Linked DNA regions of Homo sapiens: all the other regions are linked to region 4. The links are contacts of gene promoters, found by promoter capture Hi-C in blood cells and fetal thymus (Javierre and others, 2016). All regions are on one chromosome and are shown on one strand. Each heading gives the region's core, a stretch centred on a gene start or on the middle of the fragment in contact. The rest is flanking DNA. Distances are from core to core; before and after follow the strand shown. Region 1 overlaps OR10K2 (olfactory receptor family 10 subfamily K member 2). Region 2 has its middle 11 kb from the start of CD1A. Region 3 has its middle 33 kb from the start of CD1D. Region 4 holds the start of CD1B (CD1b molecule).

The links. Contacts are between HindIII fragments. The CHiCAGO score rates a contact against its expected background, and 5 or more counts as called.
Region 1: a contact is called between a fragment that was not itself captured here and the fragment with the promoter of CD1B in region 4, in 1 of 17 cell types (fetal thymus). The highest score is 7.2, in fetal thymus.
Region 2: a fragment that was not itself captured here is called in contact with the fragment with the promoter of CD1B in region 4 in 1 of 17 cell types (fetal thymus); the score reaches 6.7 in fetal thymus.
Region 3: a fragment that was not itself captured here is called in contact with the fragment with the promoter of CD1B in region 4 in 1 of 17 cell types (fetal thymus); the score reaches 11.0 in fetal thymus.

The regions. Positions count from the first base shown.
Region 1 is chr1:158,422,589-158,425,740 of GRCh38, forward strand. All of the region lies in intron 1 of OR10K2 (olfactory receptor family 10 subfamily K member 2), which reads right to left. Among named protein-coding and RNA genes, the nearest start is that of OR10K2, 2.1 kb to the right of the region's middle. The HindIII fragment of the contact is 4,551 bases long and covers 1-3,152 here.
Region 2 is chr1:158,263,350-158,266,948 of GRCh38, forward strand. It overlaps the pseudogene HMGN1P5. Among named protein-coding and RNA genes, the nearest start is that of CD1A, 11 kb to the left of the region's middle. The HindIII fragment of the contact is 1,375 bases long and covers 578-1,952 here.
Region 3 is chr1:158,211,808-158,215,103 of GRCh38, forward strand. No RefSeq gene overlaps it. Among named protein-coding and RNA genes, the nearest start is that of CD1D, 33 kb to the left of the region's middle. RefSeq lists an enhancer at 318-868. The HindIII fragment of the contact is 731 bases long and covers 1,367-2,097 here.
Region 4 is chr1:158,329,766-158,332,997 of GRCh38, forward strand. It overlaps CD1B (CD1b molecule), which reads right to left and starts at 1,766. Exons shown (of 6, transcript NM_001764.3): 1 at 1,598-1,766; 2 at 1,031-1,297; 3 at 87-365. The coding sequence starts at 1,658. The HindIII fragment of the contact is 309 bases long and covers 1,719-2,027 here.

The sequences.
Region 1 (3,152 bases), core at 440-2,939, 93 kb after region 4:
GATAACCTTACAATTATCCCATTAAAAGTATATTATTAAAATCACCTTAACTAATATTAATAACAAAATTAATGACAATGCATTTTTATGTTACCTAAGAACCACCAAATCAAGAATATCAGATAGTACACATGTATTAAGCAGTGTGATTATAACAATGTGTCAGCTACTAGGTCTGCAATGAAGATACACATTTAAATAAGACCCAGTCCCGAGCCTCTAGTTCATGTTTCAAGGGTGAGACCCATTCAGAAGATATTATTAAAAATGTGGTGATTGAGATGATGGATATGCATTTGAAATTATAGGAGCACTCAGGAGACATATCTTGTATACATCCTTGAAAAATGATATGTATTTTTTATTTATTTCTAGGTTTCTTTATATATGTTATGAAAAGGCTGAACTAAGTATACTTGGAGAAATATCATAACACAGGCACTATTTAGTTTCTAAAACTTTTAATCTAAATATATAAATAGGGCAAGTAAGTACATTTGCTTCTCCTTGCTCCTGGAAGAGTGCAAGGATGTTTTCTGCTTGCATGTTCTACTTTATATCACTCCCTTCCTCAACCCCATGAAAGGGGCAATCACCCTCCTCCTCCTCTATCTTATTCCTCTGGTTCTTCGCCCAATATTTTTTTTTTTTTTTGCCTAGGTGGTTGGCATATTTATTACTATCATACTATTAACTTTCAAATTCTATATTCTCTAGTTTTTAGTACTACTAATAAATTTCTACATGTAGAATCTGAAATTTTCCTCTCACAAGCACATGTAAAGTTGAGTAATGTAGGAATAAAATAGGCTTTACATTTTGACAGATGTAGGCTTTAATCCTGACTCTGGCAAGTTCTAGTGGTAAAACCTTAATAAATTCTCTAAGGCCTATTTTCTCATTTGTATGATAAGAATAATTCCTGCCTCCTGGGCTATCATGAGAATTAATTCAGGCAATATATATGAAAGAGATTTGTCCCATAAATAAGGAGTGCTTAGTAAGTACTTCTGTTTTATTACTTTATTGTTGTTCTATAGGTATTGGTATCAGAAATATTTTCATCAGTGAGGCAATAAGCATTTAACTCATGGGAAGTTATTGAAACTGATTTTTCTGTATTTTCTCAGGAAGAGAAAATTTAAGAGAAATTATTCTTCCCTTGAGGCTCTCCAAGCCTGACTGAAAGTAACTTGGTTTTCCACGGAGTTCTGTTTTGCTCTTGAAGGGAGGCCATACATATTTAGGCATCAATCTCAACAATTTATTGAGTTCCTAAAGACTGGGGCAGATTGTCTAACAATTCTCATGTTTTACGATTTCATGATTTCTGTTACTATCTAAGCACTATAGATATAATTATGAATAAAATCATTGCCCTTTTCTCAGAGAAGAATCAAACACCTATTCATATTATAAAATAGCCTATAAACATTATAAAATAAGTATAAACAAAATGTCCTGAAAATCTGGAGGAAAAACCCAATAATTTTAGAGAAGGCTTTGAAGAACAAGTAGTATTTGAATTTCACCTGTAAGAATTTTAATAAAAGTACTGGCTGAGTCTAAATGCCATTACTTATCTAGATATTTTGATTGAACTAACTAATCTTTTCTTTAATGTTGACTGGCCTTTCAGAATTAAAATGTAAGTTTACAAAGGCCCATGAAACAAGACACACTAATTATTCTCCCTTTTCTCTTCTTCTGTTTCCTTACAATAAACTTCATGTTTCATGTTGAGGTCACACACTCAAAAAACTAGCAAACAAGTAGACAAAAACAAAGAAAAAATAAACTCAGTTATGTTTTTTGGGAGCATTATTCCATTGTGTCTATCAATATTGCTTTTGATGTTTCCAGGAAGAAAAAATAGAACACAATTTTGGTATCAGTTTATTAATCAAAATTTAGAATTATCTTGTAATAATGTAAGGCAAGTTGACATTTATCACATGCTCTGTTTGTTCTAGATTTGGTGAAAATACTGTTACATATATTCTCTCATTTGGTCCTCACAGCAACCTTATGAAGTTTTTATTACTTTTAATATCTTTATTATAAAGATAAGAAATTTGAGAATCAGAGTTTGGGGACTCCTCTTAAGTTCACACAGCTGGTGGAACCAACACTAGACTACAGTACAATCTGTGTGTGTGTGTGTGTGTGGTGAGAAAGGGAAAGCAGTATTCAACACTCTCCTTCCAGATAAAGCTATTTCAAGGAAAAGACTTCTGCTACAATTTTGTTATGGCCTCAGTTTTCAACTTTGCTATGTATTAGCTACAGGACTTTGATGAGTCTGAATCAATTTTCTCATCTTTGTAATGCGGTTCATTCATTCTGATGTCAGCTAACCTAACTTTTAAGATTTCTTTAAAATGGATGAGACAATGCTTTTGTAACAGTTGAGTGGTTTCACAGACATTATTTATGTAAGTTTAACTTGGAATTGAAAAGGGGCAGAGAGCACTGCTAGTTTTGAGAAGAACATACCTTTCACATTGCTTCCTGTACCTTTGTTGGTTTTGGGAGGGATTTAATAAAATAAAGATCATTTCATTTTTCAGGACTGGGAAAGGTATGTTGCAGTAGTTCTTGTCTCTTACTCAAGAGGTCTCCAGAAAGCCAGAGTCACAGTTACAGCTGTATATGATCTTAAAGATCTAGCTTAGTAGTTTCATCAGACAGATGAAGAAATTGAGCTTCAGAGAGTGCTATGAAGTTTCTAAGACTAGAAAGCAACTGAGTGGATGTGTTAGCAATGGAACAGAGGTCTTTTCTCTTTCAGAAGAATGTGATTTCCACAGTATTATCCTGCCTTCTGAAGATATTTGTTTCATCCATAATTACTTTCTCTTTTTTGGCAGCAGTTACTTACGGTGTTCTTTTCCTAAGTCTATGTCCTTGTGCTAGTGTTTTTGCCTGTTTCTGTTTTTGGGTTCCCAGAGGGCAGGGTTTCTTAGTCTTTATATCTGTCAATTATAACTATTTTCAGAGCATTTATTAAGTTCTCAGCACATATTAGGTATTATATCTTTGTGTAGATCCTATCTGATACAGTCCTTTCTACAAAAACGTCATTATTTAAAATTTTTAATTAAAATATTGTTGAGTGCCCTGTCAAATTAAATCAGAACCAACAGAGTGCA
Region 2 (3,599 bases), core at 15-2,514, 67 kb before region 4:
AGCTTTTTGTGTAATTTAAAATCTTAAAATTATTTTTGATGCTTCTTGGATGTCTGGCTCATTTCCAGTTAAGAAAGGGTTATGATATGGAGAAACATGTTTTTATAAATTGTGGAATGTTTTCATCTATAAAATGCAAATATTTGATAGACAGTTAAAGATTTCTTGCTTCCTAGTTTTCACTAAAATTTAAGGTTACTAAGAATAAGAATTGTAGTTAATATATAATTTAGTATATAAAACCTGCCAAAGAAGGTGTTTTCTTATTGAGAAATGGAATAATTTTGTCTAATTCAAATGTTTTCTAAAGTTTGATCCCAATTATGGACTCGAAAAACTTATTTATGAAATAAGGTAGAAAGGAACCAGCAAGTAGGGAAGAGAGATGTGAAGAAAGTTAAGAACATAAAGATGTATTTTTGGCAAGAAAGGTTAAAAAGAAAAGAGGATAATTTTATACAAGTATCTTTTCTTTTAGACTTTTATTTTAGGTTTGGGGTACGTGTGCAGGTTTTTTATATAGTAAACTCATGTTGTGGAAGTTTGTTGTACAGATTATGTCATCACCCAGGTACTAAGCTTAGTACCCAATAGTTATTTTTTTCTGCTCCTCTCCCTCCTCTCATCCTCCATCCTCAAGGAGGCCCCAGTGCGTGTTGCGTGTTGTTTTCTTCTTGGTGCTCATGAACTCTAATCATTTAGTTCCCACTTAAAAGTAAGAATATGTGGTATTTTGTTTTCTGTTCTTGCATCAGTTTGCTAAAGATAACGGCCTCCAGCTCCTTCCATGTTCCCACAAAAGATATGATCTCATTCTTTTTTATGGCTGCATAGTATTACATGGTGCATAGGTACTACATTTCCTTTATCTAATCTGTCGTTGATGGGCATTTAGGTTGAATCCATGTTTGCTATTGTGAATAGTGCTTCAGTGAACATTTGTGTGCATGTGTCTTTACGGTAGAATGATTTATATTTCTCTGGGTATATACCTAGTAATGGATTGCTGGGTTGAATGGATATTTCTGTTTTCAGCTGTTGGAGGAATCACCATACTTCTTTCCACAATGGTTGAACTAATTTACACTCCCACCAACAGTGTATGTGTGTCCCCTGAGAAAACAATCTGACAGCATTTTTTTTTTCCTAAAAATAAATGAATTTTTTAAAAAAAATTTAGGACAAAACAGAAAGTTCAAGCATGACACAGATGCCTTGTTGAAGTCATATGTTGTTTTCTTTCTGTTTCTCTGTGTGTTTATCTTCATGTACATAAACAGAAAATAAAAAGTTGAAAAGTTTATATAGTAAATATCCTTTAAAAACTGATAGAAAATTGGAGACATTTGACTAATTAACATTGTTCACCGTTAAAGCTCTTAGTCTTGATGAAGGTACAATAAGAATTATTATAAATAAATACATTGGCAGTTTGATAATTCTTTTTAAATATAGTTAAGCCTGAAGCCAGATTTAACATGGAGTCAAATTTTACATAAATGCTTGCATTGCTTTGTTTCACACTGTATTTGTTATTCTACATAGAAAGTACTAGCACTAAGGTACTTATTGGTTACATGCCTAAAGTGAATTTCTTAATTGCACAAAATGTAGAGTGGTACTGGTGGACTTAAACACATTAATTAGTATATCAGAAACAGAATATCATATTTTTTTAGGCCCTGGATAACACTGTAGACTCCAAGGTAAACTAAGTAAGAGAAAATTTGGGAGTTATTTTCCTGTTGGTTTTGCTTTTAATTTTCATTTATTTGCTGTTTGTTCTCCTTTGGGTTTTACTTATATTTACATACATATAAAACAATTGGTGTTTTTTAGTTTCTACTGTAAGGCTTGTATTTGGTTCTATGAATAGTCATTTTGTTTCCTATGCATTTCCAAAGGCTTATCATTTGCTCTATTTATCTAAAATTCCTAAGCTGTCTTTGTCAAGCTTCCAAAAATTGGCAGAGGACAGCAGCCATTTAAAATTTGGACTGGGGCTGGGTGCAGTGGCTCATGCCTGTAATCCCAGCACTTTGGGAGGCCAAGGTGGCTGGATCACCTGAGGTCAGGAGTTCCAGTCCAGACTGGACAACATGGCAAAACCCTGTCTCTTCTAAAAATACAAAAATTAGCTGGGGGTGGGATTACAGTAATCCCAGCTACTCAGGAGGCTGAGGCAGGAGAATAGCTTGAACCCAGGAGATGGAGGTTGTGGTGAGCCAAGATTGCACCACTGCACTCCAGCCTGGGTGACAGAAGTGAGACTCTGTCCCAAAAAAAAATAGTTGAATTTTACTTTGTAAAATTAAGAATTTCTCTTCAACAAACTACACACTGAGAAAAATTAATGCGTAGACAATTAAGAAAACTATTTGGAATTCTAACAATAAAATGGGTATATATAACATATATGAGATATACACCCATATATGAATTTGGAGATGTTTGTTGATTAAGTATACATGTGTAGAAACAACAGACCAGACTGTTGCGAAGGTCTTCAAGAAAGTGCTGAATGCAATGCATCAATACACGAAGCATACAGTACAATACCTGTATTGCAATTAGAGTTGTACACATCAAATAGTACCACTTTTTTTCTTTTATAATTGAGATTTTATTGGTTGTGTTGAGGGTCAGTACACAGATATTTCAATTCTTAATATATGTACTGAAAATCTAAAAAGCCATGTATTGTAATTATTTTTTAAAGTTGTTCCAGTAACTTTCCTGCTTAAAATTTGGAGGCAAATTTTCCTTAAGAGGCTACCAAGTACCAGTATCTTCACATGTTGATAAGCTGTTAACAGATGTCCCACCAACTCACAATTGAATAGCATATACACTACACACTCAAATTTTTAGTATTTCACAGCATGGTAACAAAGTTATTAGAAAAACAGGACTACCACCACCAAAGATGTTACAGAGTGCACACAATTCTGACAGGGAGAGCCATTATGAAGGAGTGGTTTCCTTTAGGAAACAATTCTACTGACAAAAAACATGGGACTAGAAGTAATTTAAAATGTTCAAGACATTAAAGGCAGGACTGTGACTCCACATTGCCATTTAGTACGCTTTGTATTATAGGATATAAAAGCTAACCCCCCATCCATGGAATGTTAAGCTGACACCCAAGACAAAGCCTCCCATAATTCGATATTCCATACTATTTTCTGGTACCAAAAATAAACAACCAGAGAATGATTTCACCTTTAAAAAAAAAGCACTTGCACTTAAAAAATGAGGTGAGATGGGATTCACTCTTTCTTAAAAATGTTTCTAGAGCTACTGAAAAACTTTTGTTTACAAAATAGTTCATAAAAATATTCCCCCAGGTTGTACAAGAAGGGAGACAGGGAAGACCGATAAGACATGGAATGTAATACTAATCAGACTTGGCTTCTTTCTCTGCAGCTTCAGAGGCTGGACTCTCCTCGATTTTAGTTTTTCCGTTTTCTGAAGTAAATCTTTAGTTTCTTGATTACCCACGTCGGCCTGTTTTCCCTTTGCTCCTCTTTCCCCTTTTGTTTGCAATTTTTTGTCTGAAGATTTGTCCTTTTCTTTTTCTTTTTTTTGACGAAGTCTTG
Region 3 (3,296 bases), core at 482-2,981, 120 kb before region 4:
ATAGTGACAGCTTGACTTTCTCTTTCTGTTTTGGATGCCCTTTATTTCTTTCTCTCATGTGATTGCTCTGGCTAGGACTTTGAGTGCTATGTAGAATAGAAGTGGTGAAAGTGGGCATCCTTGTCTTGTTCCAGTTCTCAAGGGGAATGCTTTCAACTTTTCCCCATTCAGTATGATGTTGGCTGTGGGCTTGTCATAGATGGCTTTTATTACTTTATGTCCCTTACATGCCAGTTTTGTCAAAGGTTTTTAATCATAAAGGCATACTGGATTTTGTCAAATGCCTTTTCTGCGTCTGTTGAGGTGATCATATGATTTTTGTTTTTAATTTTGTTTATGTGATATATCACATTTATCCTCAAATTTTTGATGAGCTGATTTTGGCTGTGCCTCTGAGTGGCTAGCAATATGTTACTTATGGAAAGTCATTTTGATATCCTTTTGATGGCAGTGGAGGGCTGCCTGGAGTGGCCACTGCCATCATGCCAGCTGCAGTGGGAAGGCATGATTGGTGGCAGCAAGAGGGGCTGCAGGAGCAGCAATGGTGGTGGTGGGTTCTCTGTGCCTGTATCCCCGTGATAGCCAACTGTGCCACCCCCATCCTTGTGCAGCCAGGTGGGACCTGCTCCCAGGCCCGGAGCCTCTGCCGCTCTGGATCCTGGCTCCGCCTCACTGTTCTCGCCCACCACTGCTGCGGGGAGGGCATGGGGAGGAGGCAGACAGTCCCTGGGGCCCGCCCCTAGGATCCTCCCATGGAGCCCTCTGCCCTGGGAGCCGCTGCCATGGGACTGGGCTGGGTTACCCACCAGCGGGGGAGCAACTTGATTGGCTACAGAGGAGCAGGCAGAGAGGAGCCCCGAGGTGGAGCTGGATCTGGAGTGATGTAGCACTCCACAGAGCCAGCAGAAGCCAGGAGCAGGCAACAGCCCTGCCCTCCTGGGCCTGGCTGCAGCTTCCCAAACTGCAGCTGTGGACCCAGGCATCTCTGCACTCTTGGAGGCCTGGGAAGGTCCCCCAGCCCTTGCAGGCTCAGAAGTGCCTGCTCCTCCTGCCTGCGTTTTCCCTGCTGTCAGTGCCTGCTCTGATCTAAGAGCAGTGTGGCGCTGAGCCGAGGCACTGTCACAGCCTGGCCAATGGTGTACATGCTCAGGCAGCCCTGACACACCAGCCGCCTGCTGCCTCATCCTCCTCTGGACTTTGGGCTCTGACAAGCATGGGAGGGAGGCCGAGGGAGAGCTGAGGACAGACTGGTGCTGGCCTTCAGGTGCCTCTTGGCATAAACAGCCTGGGTGCCATGAATGGCAGTAGGAGGCAGAAGGGGGTGCGTCCCCATTGAAGCCCCACCTTCAAGCCACGGAAGGCCTGAAGCTTGGGGGATGGTCTGCCAGTTCTACAGACCACAGGGGGAACCCATGGTGCTTTATCCTGGGCCCGCTGATGGCCACCCGTGGACCAATCAGCATGCACTTCCTTCCCTTTGAGGCCCGTAAAAACCCTGGACTCAGCCAGACTCCAGGAGAGGATGTAGAGATGATAGGGAGATGGCAGGACAGGACGATGAGCTGCAGAAAGGATCTGCCCACCCCAGGGTCTCCTCTCTGCTGAGAGCTGAGGAGATGATGAGATGACCAGCTGCAGAGGGAAACTACCTTCTCTGCTGAGAGGTGGACACTTGTGGGGATGACCTACCCAGCAGAGAAGAGCTACCCTCTCTGCTGGGAGGTGAAAACACCATTGGCACACACTGGCTATGGAGAGGAGCTGCCTTCCTTTGAGCTGTTCTATTGCTCAATAAAGCTCATCTTCATCTTGTTCATCCTCCACTTGTCTGCATACCTCATTCTTCCTGGTTGCAGGACAAAAACTCAGGAGCCACCAGATGGCAAGGCTAAAAGAGCTGTAACACAAATGGGGCTGAGACATGCCCCTTACTTGAAACATTGTGGGTGAGGAGAAGAAGAGAAGAGCTGTGGCTCTTCGGGAGCCCAGACCTAAGAGCCCCCCATGCCAGGGCTGTGGCTTCCTTTTTGGGGTCCTGCAGTTCCTGGTGTCTCAAACCTTCTGGGTGCCACTGCATTCCCTGGTGCTAGCCAGGGAAGCTTCTTGCAGTGCACCTGATCCAGCCACAGCCTTGCAGAGAGCCAGCATCCATGCCAGTACCTGGAACTGCCCACCCCGTGGCAGCAGCTGGTGTGTCTGACTGTGTACAGTGGCTGGATCCCACACTCTCTCACACACCTCTTGTCACTGTGCACCTGGCTCACCCTTGGCAGGTGTGGGATCCAGACTGGTAGTGTGAACCAAGTGCAGCCTGCCAGACCAAGTGGGTGGAATGAACCCAGCAGTCTCTGAGCAAAAGTTGGATAAAGGTGCCACTGGCCGCAGAAGATTCCAGCCAGAAAATTGACACCCCAAAGATCCCGTAACACTTTCACCCCTTAAATGGATAAGGATAATCTAGATTTCTGGTTGGGAACATCCCCTTTATCATTTTCTCAAAAAGTATTTCTTAGTTCTTGTGTATAAACTAAGTATTCTAGTCATTTATGTTATTGATAGAAGTCTAAAATATTTTATATAGAATATTTGGAAGCCAATCCCAAATGACAGAAGCCCACTGGGTCTAGGCTGGTTTGTGGATTCTTGTGAATCTCTTAAGAGCATGAGGTGGTAGAAGGCAGATTGAAGTTTCATGGAAGGAGTCAACTCAAGCACAAAGACCATAGCAGGACTCATAATCTCCATCACTTAGAAATATACAGGTAGATTCTTTCAGTGTCTAGAACAAGGAGATACCATAAATGTACATGGACAAGAAAGAGACGAATTCTCCCTTTTGTGTGATGTCCCTCTGTGGATCTTCATAGGCCTACAAATCATTGCTCTGCCAAAGTATATTCTAGTAGGTACATAAAGACTTTATATATACCTAGTAGGTACATAAAAACTTTCAAAGGGGGTATAGGGATGGACAGTATTAAGGGGATAAATTTCCAAATTTTATACATACTCTTCACCAAAATTCACATGCTTAGGTAATTTTCTTGATGCTTCTAACTTCCCATGACCCTTTTCATAATTGGTTTCCCATGAGGAAAAGCATATAGCTCATCCCTCAAAAGCTTATTTTGGTGTATTGTCAAGGAATGATGCTAAACTTCAGGGGTTCTAAACAAAAGAACAATTTGAAACATTGCTGATGTGGTTGAGAAAGTAAGTTCTTCTGTTGGCTAGATAAGAAATCCCTTTTCAAATTAATTGGAGTTACTTTTTTTAATTTAAAAAACTGAAATAAG
Region 4 (3,232 bases), core at 516-3,015:
TTGTTATTTAAGCTCCTATCCTTTGATATCTTCCTACTCTTGATCTTAGAGGAGGTGGTGGGAAGTGAAATAACAGCAGGACTAACCTTGTCTTTGCAGATCTGCTTTTCCTGCATTGAGGACGCCCAAGAGATATCGGGGGCAGGTTTCATAGAGGAGAATTCTCACAGTTTCCATGATACCTTGATATTGTATGATTAGTGCACAGAATTTCTGTGCCCTGCTGCCACCTTCTGGGGAAGGCACACATGAAGCATTCTTGACACTCAGGAAATCCAATCCTCCTAGAGCTCCCCTCAGGAAGCTTACTATGGCACCTCCAGAATGTAGCTCACAGCCTGCTATGCCCTGGATCTCAAAGGGGTCTATGTAGAGGGAAAAGAGAGCAAGTTATTAAACACAAATAAGAAAAAAAGGCATGAGAAAAGAACCTAGGATTTTAGATTTTGGTGGGGATAAAGTTATTTGGTGTAAAATGATGATGAGCTAAAAACTAATGATAACATTTAGACATTTTCAGAAACAAGAGCATTGAGAAAAATGTGCATGCCATGAAGACAAAGGTATGTGATAAAGGAGTACAGTGAGTATGAAAGGAGAGGTGAGGCAGAGCGTGGTGCAGTCAGGAGTGCAGCATTCCAGAGTGAGTGGAGGTTCCCAGCAAGAGGAGGGTGCGGGGAGGAGATGATTGAAAAGATGGATTAGGGGAGAAAGCCACACGTTAGATCACTCAGGCACAGGGTAGGAGAAGTAAGGGCCCTTGAGGAGAAGTTTCACATAAGACAAACCAGCAGCTGGTTACAAAGTGGAAGACAGTCTGAGAGTAAGAGAAGAGTGCAGAGGCAGCAAGAATCTGAAATATGAGGTGTGATGGTGTGAAGCTGGAGTGAGAGACTACTCAAGAAAAGCATGTGCGTGCATTTGGGTAAAATAGAAAGGAAGGGAGAAGCATCAGAGAGAGCAACACTTTGCAAAAAAGAGAGAAAAGAGAGTCCTTGAGACTCTTCCCAGTTCGGTGGACTAGACTCACATTTCATCTGGAAATCACCGGCAAAGTCTTGTACTTCTCGAGCGAATCCAAAGATGTAGACTCGGAATATCTCCTCTAACTCAGCAACCTCCTTATCACTAAAGTTACCTTTAGACCAAGGCTTCAGGAATATGGCAGTGCCTGAGTCGCTATCCCAGCCATGAATCTGCAAATCATCCAACCAGCCTGAGCCTTGAGTTTGTGCCCAGGTACTATTGGTAAAGGACGAGGTCTGGATAACATGAAAGGAGGTCGGCCCCTGGAAGGCTGTGAAGAGTGGAAAAGCAAGATGGTGAAGATAAAGAGAGAAGCAGGAGACAATTAGGAAGAATGGGAATGAAAATGATTTAGAAAACAAGAACCTAGAGTCTAAAGAACACAGGAAGTCTGACACATTTGACTGCCTTAAGGCTTCAGGTTCTAGTCCCAACCACCAGAATGGTTGAAGAGGGCGGGAGACAGAAAGACCCAGACCCTTAGTGTCCAATTGCACCTAGGAAAGCCCTGCTTGCTTTTTAAAATCCAAACCCCTGCACCAGTGCTGGGAGCTGCCAGAGTGACTCTTACCATGTTCACTGTTACCACCAGGAAAGAGAACAGCTAACAGTTGAAATGGCAGCAGCAGCATTTCACTGGGAGATGCAACTTCTTACTGGCAGAGCTGGTATTTGATCTCCAATTTCAGCAAAGCTTTTCCTCAGTACCCTGTAGTGACTTCTTCTCTCTTCCAACTGCCAAATCTCTTCCTCATCCAAACTGCTTTTCAGAGAAAAATGTGCCTCCCACAGCCCTGAGCCTCTTACCTCACCTTTTATTTCCCTCAAGCCCTGATTTTTAGAGTTTCTCTTACCCCCTGACTTCCAGCCGCTCTCCCTGTCCTCACCTTCCTTCATACCTCCTTGGAAAAGCCCCCATATGATTCTGCATTTTCATTTCTCCTTCCTTAGCCTTTATTCCCACATCTATAGGATAAGATGGTGATATTAAGCAATTGCTAAGCTTTTAGTCTGCTTTAACCCAGAAGGATGCTTTTAGTTTATCCACCTCACTTAGTTTCTCCCCCTCCCAGCTGCCTTATCTTCTCTGGCACTCTGTTACTGCCTCTTCCCAATGTTTTCAATGTCTTCTCTTTCTTATATTGCCCTCTTTGTCTGGTGTTCCTTACCCCACATTCTAAACTGGCTGTGAGTGTGTGTGTGTGTGTGTCTGTGTCTGTGTGTGTATGTGTATGTGTGTGTACCGATATTCACTTACATAAAGGCAAAGCATTTAAAACATTTCCTGTACTATAGCACTACAAACCAAAATGCCAGAATCAAATATAATAAAGACTGAAGTTTATAATTCAAACAAAATTATACTATAGCAATATTTGAGGGAAAAAATGACAATTGCTGCTAGCATGTGACCTTCTCTTCAGGAGCTCTTGGCCTATGGAGTTTTGAGTAACAAATATTCATGACATAAACAGAACTCTAGGAGCTATGCTATGTGCACCTCCAGCCTAAGTCAAAGATAACTTTTTGGGTAAGTTGCCATAAGCGGCAGAGCTTTTTTCTTCTCTTGTAATATCTCATAACTGCTGTCTACATTTGGGCATTCATATCACCACATGTGGTATTAATAATAGAGCAAAGAGGTTGCTTTTTTTTATACAAAAAGTTCAGAGATACTTGTTTTAAGATGTCACCTCCTATCTTCTTGTATGCCCATGAAAAATTTTAAGAAGAATTTTTGGATTTTCTCCATTTAGGAAAAAAATCACATATTTGCAGAGATCTATGTATCATGCAGAAATGTGGCAGCAATCGATTCCGAGTAAAGAGGGTTATCACTAACTAATTCTATTATGTGGATAAGAAAATGCAAAGTGAGTAGTGTAGTGTTCTCTATTCCTGGGGACACTACTGGTTCACAACATTAATAAGACTGGTTCACAACATTAATAAGACTAGCCTTCATCCAAGATTATTACTGCCTAATTGATAAATACAGAGCAGCTCTCCAAATTTCAATGTATGTATCTCTTAACAACATTCCCAGACTCCAATACATGACAGAATTGAATCTACTTTTTGGATAACAGCCATAGACAACAGCAGAGACTTAACATTGGCTGTCACAGACATGAACATTACTATTTTTGTGTTTATACGTTTTTTATTTTGGGTAGAACACCCAAAACAGAGCTCAGGAAAAGCT